Regions from separate parts of the Homo sapiens genome. Here all the other regions are linked to region 3. The links are contacts of gene promoters, found by promoter capture Hi-C in human tissues and cell types (Jung and others, 2019). All regions are on one chromosome and are shown on one strand. The core of a region is centred on a gene start or on the middle of the fragment in contact, and the rest is flanking DNA. Distances in the headings are between cores, read along the strand shown.

Region 1 (2,866 bases), core at 13-2,512, 61 kb before region 3:
ACTATACCAACAGATCTTCACATGGATGCAGATAAAAGAGAATATTGATACACTGCTGGTGGGAATGTAAATTAGTACAACCTCTGTGGAAAAAAGTATGGGTATTTCTCACAGAACTAAAAGCAGAACAACCATTCAACTCTGCAATTCCACCACTAGGTATCCACCCAAAGGAAAAGAAATGATTATATCAAAAACATACCTGCACCTGTATGTTTGTCACTGCACTATTCACAATAGCAAAGTCATAGAACCAAGTAAGTGCTCATCAATGGTTGATTGGGTAAATAAAATGTGATATATATATCTATACCATGGAATACTACATAGCCAGGAAAAAGAATAAAATTATATCTTTTGCAGCAACATGGATGGAGCTGGAGTCCATTATTTTAAGTGAAATAACTCAGAAGTATCAAATACCACATGTTCTCACTTATAAGAGGGAGCTAACAATAAGTACAAATGAACAGATAGGTAAATAATAGACACTAGGGACTCAAAAAGGGAAGGGTGGGAGGGGGGTGAGGTTTGAGATTTTACTTTTTGGGTACAATGTTAACTATTAAAATGACAAGCACATTAGAAACTCAAACATCACAATTATATAGCCAGGTAACAAGCCTGAACATATACCTTCTGAATCTATTTAAAAAAAAACTTTTTGAAAGAAAGGAAAAAAAATTATACCATCAACACGAGTCAATAGACCTGTGTCTTTCTCATTCTTCCTGCTTTGCATGGGTGTCCTTAGACATTGCCATCTTGGGACTGTGAGGCAAGAGACAGCTAGAAAATGGACCCAAAACTGAATACATGGAACTGAAAAAACAAGAGAAAGAAACCAGGTCCTAATCATGTTGTTTGACCTTTAGGTCAAGCCTCTTTTGAGACCAGATTTACCTGTTCTCTTTAGCAATATGAGCTAATAAATGTCTATATTTGCTTAAACCACCAAGCCAGGTTCAGTGTACTTTGTAACTGAAAGAATCTAATATAATCCATGTCCCATAGTCAGCTTTTTTGCAGATGTCCCTTTAGCAAACTGAGCATCAGTCTCAGTACATTGACCCCTTGCTTCTTCAGTGAAAATGCCTGCATTTGCCTTGCTAGTATCCCATTGAGTACTCTCAACCACCTGAGGACTCTGTTCTCTCCTGTTATCACTTACATACATGGTAGTTATGTTCATTTTATAGTTAGGTGTCTAAGAAGGGAGTGTATTTCTTACTGTCTGACTCTGTTGTAGACTACAAAGAATAATCAGTCTAGCAAGATGAAAGTAGAACAATAAGCAGGACTATAGTATAAGCATTACTATAAATGTAATGAATTATTACTAACTTGCCTGCCCACTTAACTATTCCTGTTGTCTTACCTTTCTTTCTTCAGCAAAGTCCTAAAAGGTAATAGGTGTTAGAAAAACTAGAAGGTCAGAAGGGAAAGATTATGCTAGGAAGAGGTCTGAAATGGAAACACACATATAAGATTGATCACAGCCATGTAAAATAATAATAACAGGAAGATCTATGCATTCCTCATTTTTTAAAACTTCAGATTCCCAAAGACTGTAAAAGCAAAACTGTTTTTCTTATTTCCCAGAACATCTGGTTCAAACAACTTTGTTGCTTACTGAACAGATATTTGTCATAAATCACCATGAACAATATAAAGATGAATGAGAGTGATTCTTTCCCAAAAGGAAAATAAAAGGTACCAGGGAAGAAAGCTCTGTCTCTCCAGAAAGTTTGATGTAGAAAAGGGGAGTCTGTATCAGGGCTTTGGCTGAACACAAGATACTGTCATATTCCAACAGCAGATCCTGGTCAGGCTGCTTGCCACAATATGATGCACAAATATGTGAGCACTTTAAATCCAGAGAGCAAAATCTAAACCAGCATATGAATTGAGGAAAGATGGCGAGCAAGACAGTTTCTAGAAAGCTAAGCCAGGCACACGACATAGGCTGAATCAGCACCGTGCAATCAAACCGGTAATGAATAGAGGCAAGGCTAGTTGTTTTCAGTCCTGACCACTGATTAGAACAGTGGTTCTCAAATCTGAGCATGCATCTGAATCACATAGAGGGCTGGTTAGAAGGCAGACTGCTTGGCCAGACCTTCTGAGTTTCCAGTTCAGGAGGTCTAGGGTGAAGCCTGTGAATTTTCGTCTCTTAAAATGTCCCCTATGCTGTTTTCACTGGCTGAGGACCTAATGCAGTGCTTTAAGAGCACTGCTTTAGAATAACCTAAAGAATTTTCAAAAATCACAAAGCTGAAGCAGAACGCCACACCAATTTCATCAGAATCTCTTAAAAGGGAGAAAAGACATCAGTATTTTTAAAATGTTCTATATGATTCCAGTGTTCAGATAAGGTTAAGAACAACTGGTCTACATTTAAAACAAAAATAATTATTTGTGTTTTCTAAACATGTAGATAGATCTAAAAAATATAAGCACAAATCTATCCTTCCATTTTGGTTTTAAAATTGTACTTTAATAATTTGTCATAAAACACCTGATATTTATGTGTGAGCATGTGTATCCATATTCATGTGTGCTTGTGTATGTGGTGTGTTTGTGTGTGTGGATGCACATAAATGTATTTCAATCAAGAGAGTATGTCAATTAGCATAAAGAATATGAGAAATATAACTCTCATTGGTTAAATGAATGACATTGTGGATATGTGGATTTGCTATAAATATTATGCAAACAACTCTATACAAGTTTCTAGCAAGCCCAGCTGTCCACAGAGTCTAGAACAGTGCTTTACACCTCCTATTCATTCAATTCTGTGTCCCCACTTAGGAAGGCTTCTATCACCTGATCCAATTAGAGGTCTGGCTAATACTGCTGTTAGAAC
Region 2 (2,700 bases), core at 158-2,657, 36 kb before region 3:
GTCAGGCAGATTGGGCCAGCTAAACAGAGCTTTGCATTCCCCTAGCAACAGTAATTGGTTCTGGGATGTGCGCATAACCAGATCAGAGCCAACGTACAAAAAAAAAAAAAAAAAAAAAAAATAGTTGCTCTGCCAAGAGATAGGCATTCCACTGGATTTGAAGCTGAAATGATATAAAGCTGACTCCTTGCAATAGCCATGCACCAACACAGAGAAAGTGGGAGCAAAGCTGGAGAAAGAATTGAAGTTCTGCTGACTTTATGTGAGACACTATATCAAGTCATTTTTTAAACTAAAATCCCTTTCACTGAACTTTTCATCTATGTAGGCCAATTAATTAATTATCATTTTATTTAAACCAGCTGGATTGGTTTTGTGTCACATGCAACCTAATATACTTTCTTTCATCATGCTAATGTATATACATATAACATTATGTATTATTAATATTGAATCTTGTCTTTGTCTTTACTTGGGACCAGGGAAATTACGTTGTGTATCTCTGCATCTTTTGCACTTCGCACAAAGCCTGTTTCATAAGAATGCATAATATTTATCAATTATAGAGATTTTTTTTTTTTTTTTGAAACAGGATCTCTCATTCTGTTGCCCAGGTTGGAGTGCAATGGCTCGATCTCGGCTCACTGCAACATCCGCGTCCCAGGTTCAAGCAATTCTCCTGCTTCAGCGTCACAAGTAGTTGGAACTACAGGCATGCGTCACCATGCCCGGCTAATTTTTGTATTTTTAGTAGAGACGGGGTTTCACCATGTTGACCAGGCTGATCTCAAACTCCTGACTTCATGTGATCCGCCCACCTCAGCCTCCCAAAGTGCTGGGATTACAGGCATGAGCCACCGTGCTCAGCCTAGAGAAAAAAATGTTTAAGCAGCTAACATAAGAAAAGAGGCAATTTAAAAAATTCATCTTCCACCATCGATGTTTTCAAAGTAAATTGTAAATGATAGACTAGAGTTTTTATAAGAAGGAAAATGATTTTTCTCCAGAATTTTAAAAAAATCTCCAAGAATAAAATTAGAAAACTTTCCAATCACTTGTAAGATTTTCACAAAACACCACCTCACCTTCTTTTTCTTGAAAAGCATTACTCCAGGTAACTTTTTTACCCCTGTTTCCTTGTCTTGATTGTCTCCTAAAACAGATTCCAATACTTCTGATTCTTTGAATTTATCCTCCTCCTCCTCCTCCTCCTCCTCCTCCTCCTCCTCCTCCTCCTCTCCATCTGCCACTTCTTCTTCCCATTCCTCCACCTTACCACGCTTATCAGAACCTTTTCTTTCATGGGTTTCCTTTAAGGTTCCTATTTTCTTATTTTTAACTAATATTTTGAATTTTAGTGCCTAAGGAAACAATTTGAGAGATACAATTACACATTTACAAGTAAATTTGCATTGTAACAGTCACTGAAAAGTGTTTCACTATATTTCCAATTAGCCTACAGTAATAAGATATGTAAGAACTCCATTTTTTCCCATACCCCTATTCACATCTCAGTAGAGGAATGAATACAGTGATATAATGCTATTGATTGTAATTCACCAAAAAATAAGCCTGTTATGATTGAGACTTACCATATGCCATTTTTTTTATATTTCCCAAGTTGGTACTATTCCAACAATTTGAAATATGTGAAAAGTATATATATATAAATACTTACCATGATATTGCAATGAAAATGTTACAACTTCTGGTAGTAAACGCTTCAGCTCATCATTTTCTTATCCAACATTAAAAAGTATTAAATGAAATCAGGTATATTAAAATGTCTATCATAAGTGTCTGGCATCTAGTATAGACTAAATTAAAGATTCGTAATAAAGGCTCTTCAAATTTCTTCTGTATTACACATAAACATCATTAACTTAATATTTTCTGTCCTTCAAACTTAGAAGCATAGCAAAATTTACCATCAGTGTCACTTGTTCTAAATTTGAAGGCTTCTGGTTCCATTCTTTCACTTGGTTATTCCTGCCCTTAGGATAATTTCTTTAATTTAACAAGTACATTTAAGTACCGGCTCTGTTATATACAATGCTGAAATCTGGGTTATAAAGTAAAGTTCTTTTCTCCAGGGAGCTTTGATTGTCCTTTCTCTTTTGTCATCCTCAGGCATCCATTCAAATTATTCCATCATCTTGGGTCTTCCCTCTTTCACAATGACCCTTATGATACTCTCCACTGCAGAGTTTACCAAATGCACTCTGCAATCCCATGTATCAAGAATATTATCAGAAGTGCTTGGGAAAGGGACAAATTCCTAGGATCTACTTCAAAATAAGGGAATCAGAATCTTGAATTGTGGGGCTGGAATTGGGCCTCCTTTAACAAGTCTCTAGGCAATTCTTTTACACACAAGGACTGAATATTGTAGGATAAAGTAACTTTTTTTTTTTTTTTTTTTTGAGACGGAGTCTCACTCTGTCACCCAGGATGGAGTGCAGTGACATGATCTCAGCTCACTGCAACCTCCGCCTCCTGGGTTCAAGAGATTCTCCTGCCTCAGCCTCCCAAGTAGCTGGGATTACAGGGTAACTTTAATTCTTTATTTACTCATTGAAAAGCACCTCCCTGCTTTAATATGGAGCTAAAATTTGAATGAAAGCTATGTACGGGAATGCTAGAAAAATAGATTCATATATAATAGGAAGCGGGATTCTCTTCCAAGAAAGCTGAAAATTA
Region 3 (2,777 bases), core at 13-2,512:
TACATTAGTCCAATGCCCAGCTACACACACACTCAAGACAGTACCATCAAAAAGCATCAGAAATACCATGGTGAGTGTATATTTGGTATGAAAAACGAAAAAAATTTTTAAAAGCTTACTTATCATAGATAAACTACAAAAACTAGGACACTTCCATTTGAAAAACTAAGATCGAAATGAGATAATGACAATTATCACTAAAATTATAAAAGGTATAGGTAAAAATTGTGCAAAACTACTAAGTTTCAGATTGTTAGAACGAATTAATGAGATCTCCTTAAATTTAATAGTTATGACTTAATCCAGCAAAGCTCATGTTCTTGTAAGAAAAAGATACCAGAATGCAGGGAAAGTTAGAAAAGCTCAGAACAAACAGGGAAAAGCAGTTCAACTTAAATGAAGAGGACTTAAATTCAGAACTCCTCGAAAAGAATAACAGCATCAAGTAAAGAGGATAAGTAGGAGAAAGAAGAAGAGGAGCAGAAAGAAGCTCTCAATGGATATCTCATTTCCATAGTTTCATGACCTGTAGAGCCGTTTCTCCTCACTTAGAAGTCTTTCCCCAGTAGGTGCTGTCATGGGTTCCAAATACAATTAACTCTGCCCCTTTGCAGAAAATAATTTCTTGATACTCATCAGCTGTTACCACTTTTCTAGGGAGAAAGCAGAGAACACACAGTGGTTTTTTTTGCCTTCGTTCTTTGAAGCTAGCTCACACTTAACCATAGAAACAGTATGCAAGATGTGGTACCTGCACTACCCTGCCCTTGAAACTGTTTGGCTTCTTACGTTCTGACCACCTCCAAACCCACAATATTTGAAAACACAGCTTTCCCTGATGTCTGGCATTTTTCCATGAACTGCCATTGTATCTCCTTTTATTTTTTACTACTTTGTTTAAACCCCTCAAACCTTTCATCATAATATGCTTCCAGTGGGTTTGGGCAGCTACTCTGAGAGCCTGAGTATAAATCAACACCATTGTGATTCCTGAAGTTGCAAAGTGCTGTCACTCTTGAAACTTTGGGCTGCTTCTCTAGATCGTTGACAACATATAATGCACACAGAGACACACCACTTTCGAAGAAGACTGTTCAGGAGGCTAAGTTCTTAAAATCTTCAAAAGAGGTATAGCTGGTTGGCTGGGCACCACACTGTCAGGTGACTGTCATTTTTTCCTTTTGGTCTGAATTCCCATTGTGATATCATCAGAGGTTCCACACTTCACAAGGAAAGCTTCTTATGACCTCATCAGGAGGCTCAGACCTTGCCAGACTGCCTGCTTTCATGGATAGACATAAAAACCTTCAGCTTGAATGTTAACACCTTGATGGGAAAGGTGGCTCATGGAATGTTTTCTTATCCTTTGAACACTCCTCATTTCAGAAGCTTTGCTTCTGTTGCAACCAAACATGACACTTAGCGTGCTGAGCAGGAAGGACAAGGAAAGAGTAATTCGCAGACTGTTATTACAGGCCCCTCCAGGGGAATTTGTAAATGCCTTTGATGATCTCTGTCTGCTTATCCGTGATGAAAAACTTATGCACCACCAAGGTGAGTGTGCAGGCCACCAACACTGCCAAAAATATTCTGTACCACTCTGCATCGATGGAAATCCAGTACTCTTGTCTCACCACAATGTAATGGGCGACTACCGATTTTTTGACCATCAAAGCAAACTTTCTTTCAAATATGACCTGCTTCAAAATCAGCTGAAAGACATCCAAAGTCATGGTATCATTCAGAATGAGGCAGAATACCTGAGAGTTGTTCTTCTGTGCGCCTTAAAACTGTATGTGAATGACCACTATCCAAAAGGAAATTGCAACATGCTGAGAAAAACTGTCAAAAGTAAGGAGTACTTGATAGCTTGCATTGAAGATCACAACTATGAAACAGGAGAGTGCTGGAACGGACTTTGGAAATCTAAATGGATTTTCCAAGTTAACCCATTTCTAACCCAAGTAACGGGAAGAATATTTGTGCAAGCTCACTTCTTCAGGTGTGTCAACCTTCATATTGAAATATCCAAGGACCTGAAAGAAAGCTTGGAAATAGTTAACCAAGCTCAACTGGCTCTAAGTTTTGCAAGGCTTGTGGAAGAGCAAGAGAACAAATTTCAAGCTGCAGTCTTGGAAGAATTACAGGAGTTATCCAATGAAGCCCTGAGAAAAATTCTACGAAGGGATCTTCCAGTGACCCGCACTCTTATTGACTGGCACAGGATACTCTCTGACTTGAATCTGGTGATGTATCCTAAATTAGGATATGTCATTTATTCAAGAAGTGTGTTGTGCAACTGGATAATATAAAGAATTGCTCCTGGTAACTATCTTGATTTGACTTGTTTGTGTTTCTTGGGAATGGTTATTTTCCTAAAATTGAGCAATCTGTAGAGATGTCTCTCACTTAGCCAATGCAAATTTAAATGGGAAAAGTGTAGCAAGTAATTTTACTTGGGGAATATTTATGAACAAGGCAAGAAAGTGTAAAGTAACTGTGTTTCATGGTGGTGACCATCATAAAGACCAAGACATTTGTTAGAAACTAAAATAGTTTTATAGAATCTGGGATTCCAGAAATAGTATAGAGGTGGCCAGGGTTAAGGCTGTGTGTGGGTGTGTACGTGTGTGTGTGTGTGTGTGTGTGTGTGTGTGAGAGAGAGAGAGAGAGAGAGAGAGAGACTTTTGACTGTTTCGAACTGAAAAGGTATACAAATGAATATCACTCCACAAATGATATTTTACATAACTCAATTCAGTCCTAGACCATCCACG
Region 4 (2,725 bases), core at 2-2,501, 54 kb after region 3:
CTCAGTAAACTATCGCAAGAACAAAAAACCAAACACCGCATGTTCTCACTCATAGGTGGGAATTGAACAATGAGAACACATGGACACAGGAAGGGGAACATCACACTCTGGGGACTGTTGTGGGGTCGGGGAAGCGGGGAGGGATAGCATTAGGAGATATACTTAATGGTAAATGACGAGTTAATGGGTGCAGCACACCAGAATGGCACATGTATACATATGTAACTAACCTGCACATTGTGCACATGTACCCTGAAACTTAAAGTATAATAATAATAAAATAAAATAATAAAAAAAAAGAAAAGCAAGAAACCCAGTGGCTTCACTGCTGAATTCTACCAAACATTTTAAGAAGAACTTATACCAATGCTACTCACACTGTTCCAAAAAATGAGGAGGAGTGAGTACTTTCAAACTCATTCTGTGAGGCCAGTATTACCCTGATATCAAAACCAGACAATGACATATCAAAAAAAGAAAACCACAGGCCAATATCACTGATAAGTATTGATGCAAAAATCCTTGACAAAATACTAGCAAACCGAATTCAAGAAAACACTTAAAAGACCATTCATCATGATCAAGTGGAATTTATTGCAGGGATTCAAGGATGGTTCAACATGTGCAAATCAATTAATGCAATACATCATATCAATAGAATAAAAGACAAAATCCATATGATCATTTTAGTTGATGCTGAAAAAGCATTTGATAAAATTCAACATCCCTTTATGATGAAAACCCTCAAAACACTGGGTGTAGAAGAAACATACCTCAACATAATAAAAGGCATATACACAGTCTCATAGCTAGTATCATATTAAATGGGAAAAACTGAAATCCTTTCCTCTAATATTGGGAACATGACAAGGATGCCCACTTTCACCACTGTTATTTAACATAGTAGTGGAATTCCTAGCTAGAGCAATAAGACAAGAGAAATAAATAAAGGGCATCCAGTTTGAAAAAGGAGAAGTCAAATTATCCCTGTTTTCAGATGATATGATCTTATACTTGGAAAAAGCTAAACATTCCATAAAAAAACTATTGGAACTGATCAAATTCAGTAAAGTTGGAGGATGCAAAATCAACATATGAAGCCACCTGCATCCCTTGGTTCATGGCCTCTCTTCACTCCAAAGCTTCTGCTTCCTTAATCACAGTTTCTTCTCTGACTCTGAACCTCCTGCCTTCCTCTTAGAAGGACCCTTGTGATTGTGTTGGGCTCACCAGAATAATCCAGGATAATCTCTTCATCTTAAGATCTTCAACTAAGTCACATCTTTAAAGACCCTTTTGCCATGTAAGGTAACAGATCCACAGGTTTGGGGGATTAGGAAACATACTGAGTGTCCCCAAATTTTCCCATCCCATTTAATATATGAGAGATACTGGGGTATGCCAGTTAGAATACTTTAGTAGAGAGGATAATATAATGATGCCAGCATAAGAAAATATGATCACAAAATCTTTAAGAAATGAGAGGAAAGAGGATTCAGAGATACTTCTTCCATTCCAGTGATACTTCATTTTAGGTGCTTGATAAATGTTTACAGATACCATAAATTCATGATACTTTGAAACTCAAGCATTTGCTTAGAAGATATCAAAAAGCAGAACTTGATATGCTACATTCACAGCATTCATTGCAATATTAGACAAAATAAAAGTTATCTAATAATTTAAAAATTAAAAATAGCACTTCAAAATCTTATTTAAGGAAGAAATAAGATATCAGAATATTTGAACAGTAAAAATATAAGTAAAACATATGAAAATTCATAAGGTATTGCCAAAGTAATATCTAAAAACAAATGTACTTTTCTGAATATATGTACTAACTGACACCACCCTAAGATTTGGGAAAGAAACAATTAGGCCAAATAAAGTTGGAAAAAAGAAATGATACAACAAAGAGCAAAAACAAGCTTGCTTGGGAAAGGGGAGACAAAAATAAGTAAAAATTGATCACCAGAAACACTAATTAACTGGTAGGAAAAGGTCAAAGCAGATGGCCTTCAATTCATTCACTCTCTTCATGGGGTGGGGGTACTATGTTCTCATAAGCCACTCCCTGGCAGAAGGCAGGTGACCTCCTCCTTGTCAACTGTACCACTGGGTAAATATACTACAGAAATTTATTAGGAAGAGGATAGCTTATTTCTGAATTGCCTTTAACAGGAAGTCTCTGGCTACAGATTACCTATAGTAAATAGAATCCAGGATCTATGGGGCATGATCCCTTGGAGAATGCCTCGTGGGCTATTCAATTCCCTTGGACTATCTCCCACTGTGGGAGATACTCCCATAACCTCAAATGCAAACCAGCCTATCCTGAGCCAGAGGAACATAGCCAACATGGAAAATACTTCTCACTGCATCTGAACCGACTGAGTGCCTGTTCCTTAACTTCATTTGGGTAATATAAGGTAAGATCTCTGATTCATGTGGGGCTGACTTTCCAATCCAATCCTGTGCATTGGTATTCTCACTATACCATTGATTCAAACTGAAGAACCAAGTAGCATTGATAACTTGTTACTATATATATATAGATAGATAGATAGATAGATAACTTGTTACTATACATATATAAATATATATAACTATATGTACTATATTTTTATTATATAGTATATTTCATATATATAACTATATATACTTTTATTATATAGTATATTTCATATATATAACTATATATACTTCATATATATACTTCATATAT

The links. Contacts are between HindIII fragments. The study calls those that stand out against the background at their distance.
Region 1: a contact is called between a fragment that was not itself captured here and the fragment with the promoter of CAPZA3 in region 3, in 1 of the 25 tissues and cell types used here (thymus).
Region 2: a fragment that was not itself captured here is called in contact with the fragment with the promoter of CAPZA3 in region 3 in 2 of the 25 tissues and cell types used here (dorsolateral prefrontal cortex and thymus).
Region 4: a contact is called between a fragment that was not itself captured here and the fragment with the promoter of CAPZA3 in region 3, in 4 of the 25 tissues and cell types used here (dorsolateral prefrontal cortex, mesenchymal stem cells, small bowel and 1 more).

What each region holds. Positions count from the first base shown.
Region 1 is chr12:18,675,360-18,678,225 of GRCh38, forward strand. It overlaps a transcript of PIK3C2G not described here and a transcript of PLCZ1 not described here. Among named protein-coding and RNA genes, the nearest start is that of PLCZ1, 61 kb to the right of the region's middle. The HindIII fragment of the contact is 4,006 bases long and covers 1-2,866 here.
Region 2 is chr12:18,700,416-18,703,115 of GRCh38, forward strand. It overlaps PLCZ1 (phospholipase C zeta 1), which reads right to left. Exons shown (of 15, transcript NM_033123.4): 8 at 1,277-1,361; 9 at 1,086-1,153. It also overlaps a transcript of PIK3C2G not described here. Among named protein-coding and RNA genes, the nearest start is that of PLCZ1, 36 kb to the right of the region's middle. The HindIII fragment of the contact is 5,239 bases long and covers 1-2,700 here.
Region 3 is chr12:18,736,857-18,739,633 of GRCh38, forward strand. CAPZA3 (capping actin protein of muscle Z-line subunit alpha 3) reads left to right here and starts at 1,263. Exons shown (of 1, transcript NM_033328.3): 1 at 1,263-2,332. The coding sequence starts at 1,413. The coding sequence ends at 2,312. It overlaps PLCZ1 (phospholipase C zeta 1), which reads right to left and starts at 1,156. Exons shown (of 15, transcript NM_033123.4): 1 at 1,076-1,156; 2 at 505-653. The coding sequence starts at 515. The HindIII fragment of the contact is 1,043 bases long and covers 676-1,718 here.
Region 4 is chr12:18,791,091-18,793,815 of GRCh38, forward strand. All of the region lies in intron 2 of LOC102724227 (a long non-coding RNA gene), which reads left to right. Among named protein-coding and RNA genes, the nearest start is that of CAPZA3, 54 kb to the left of the region's middle. The HindIII fragment of the contact is 3,452 bases long and covers 1-2,725 here.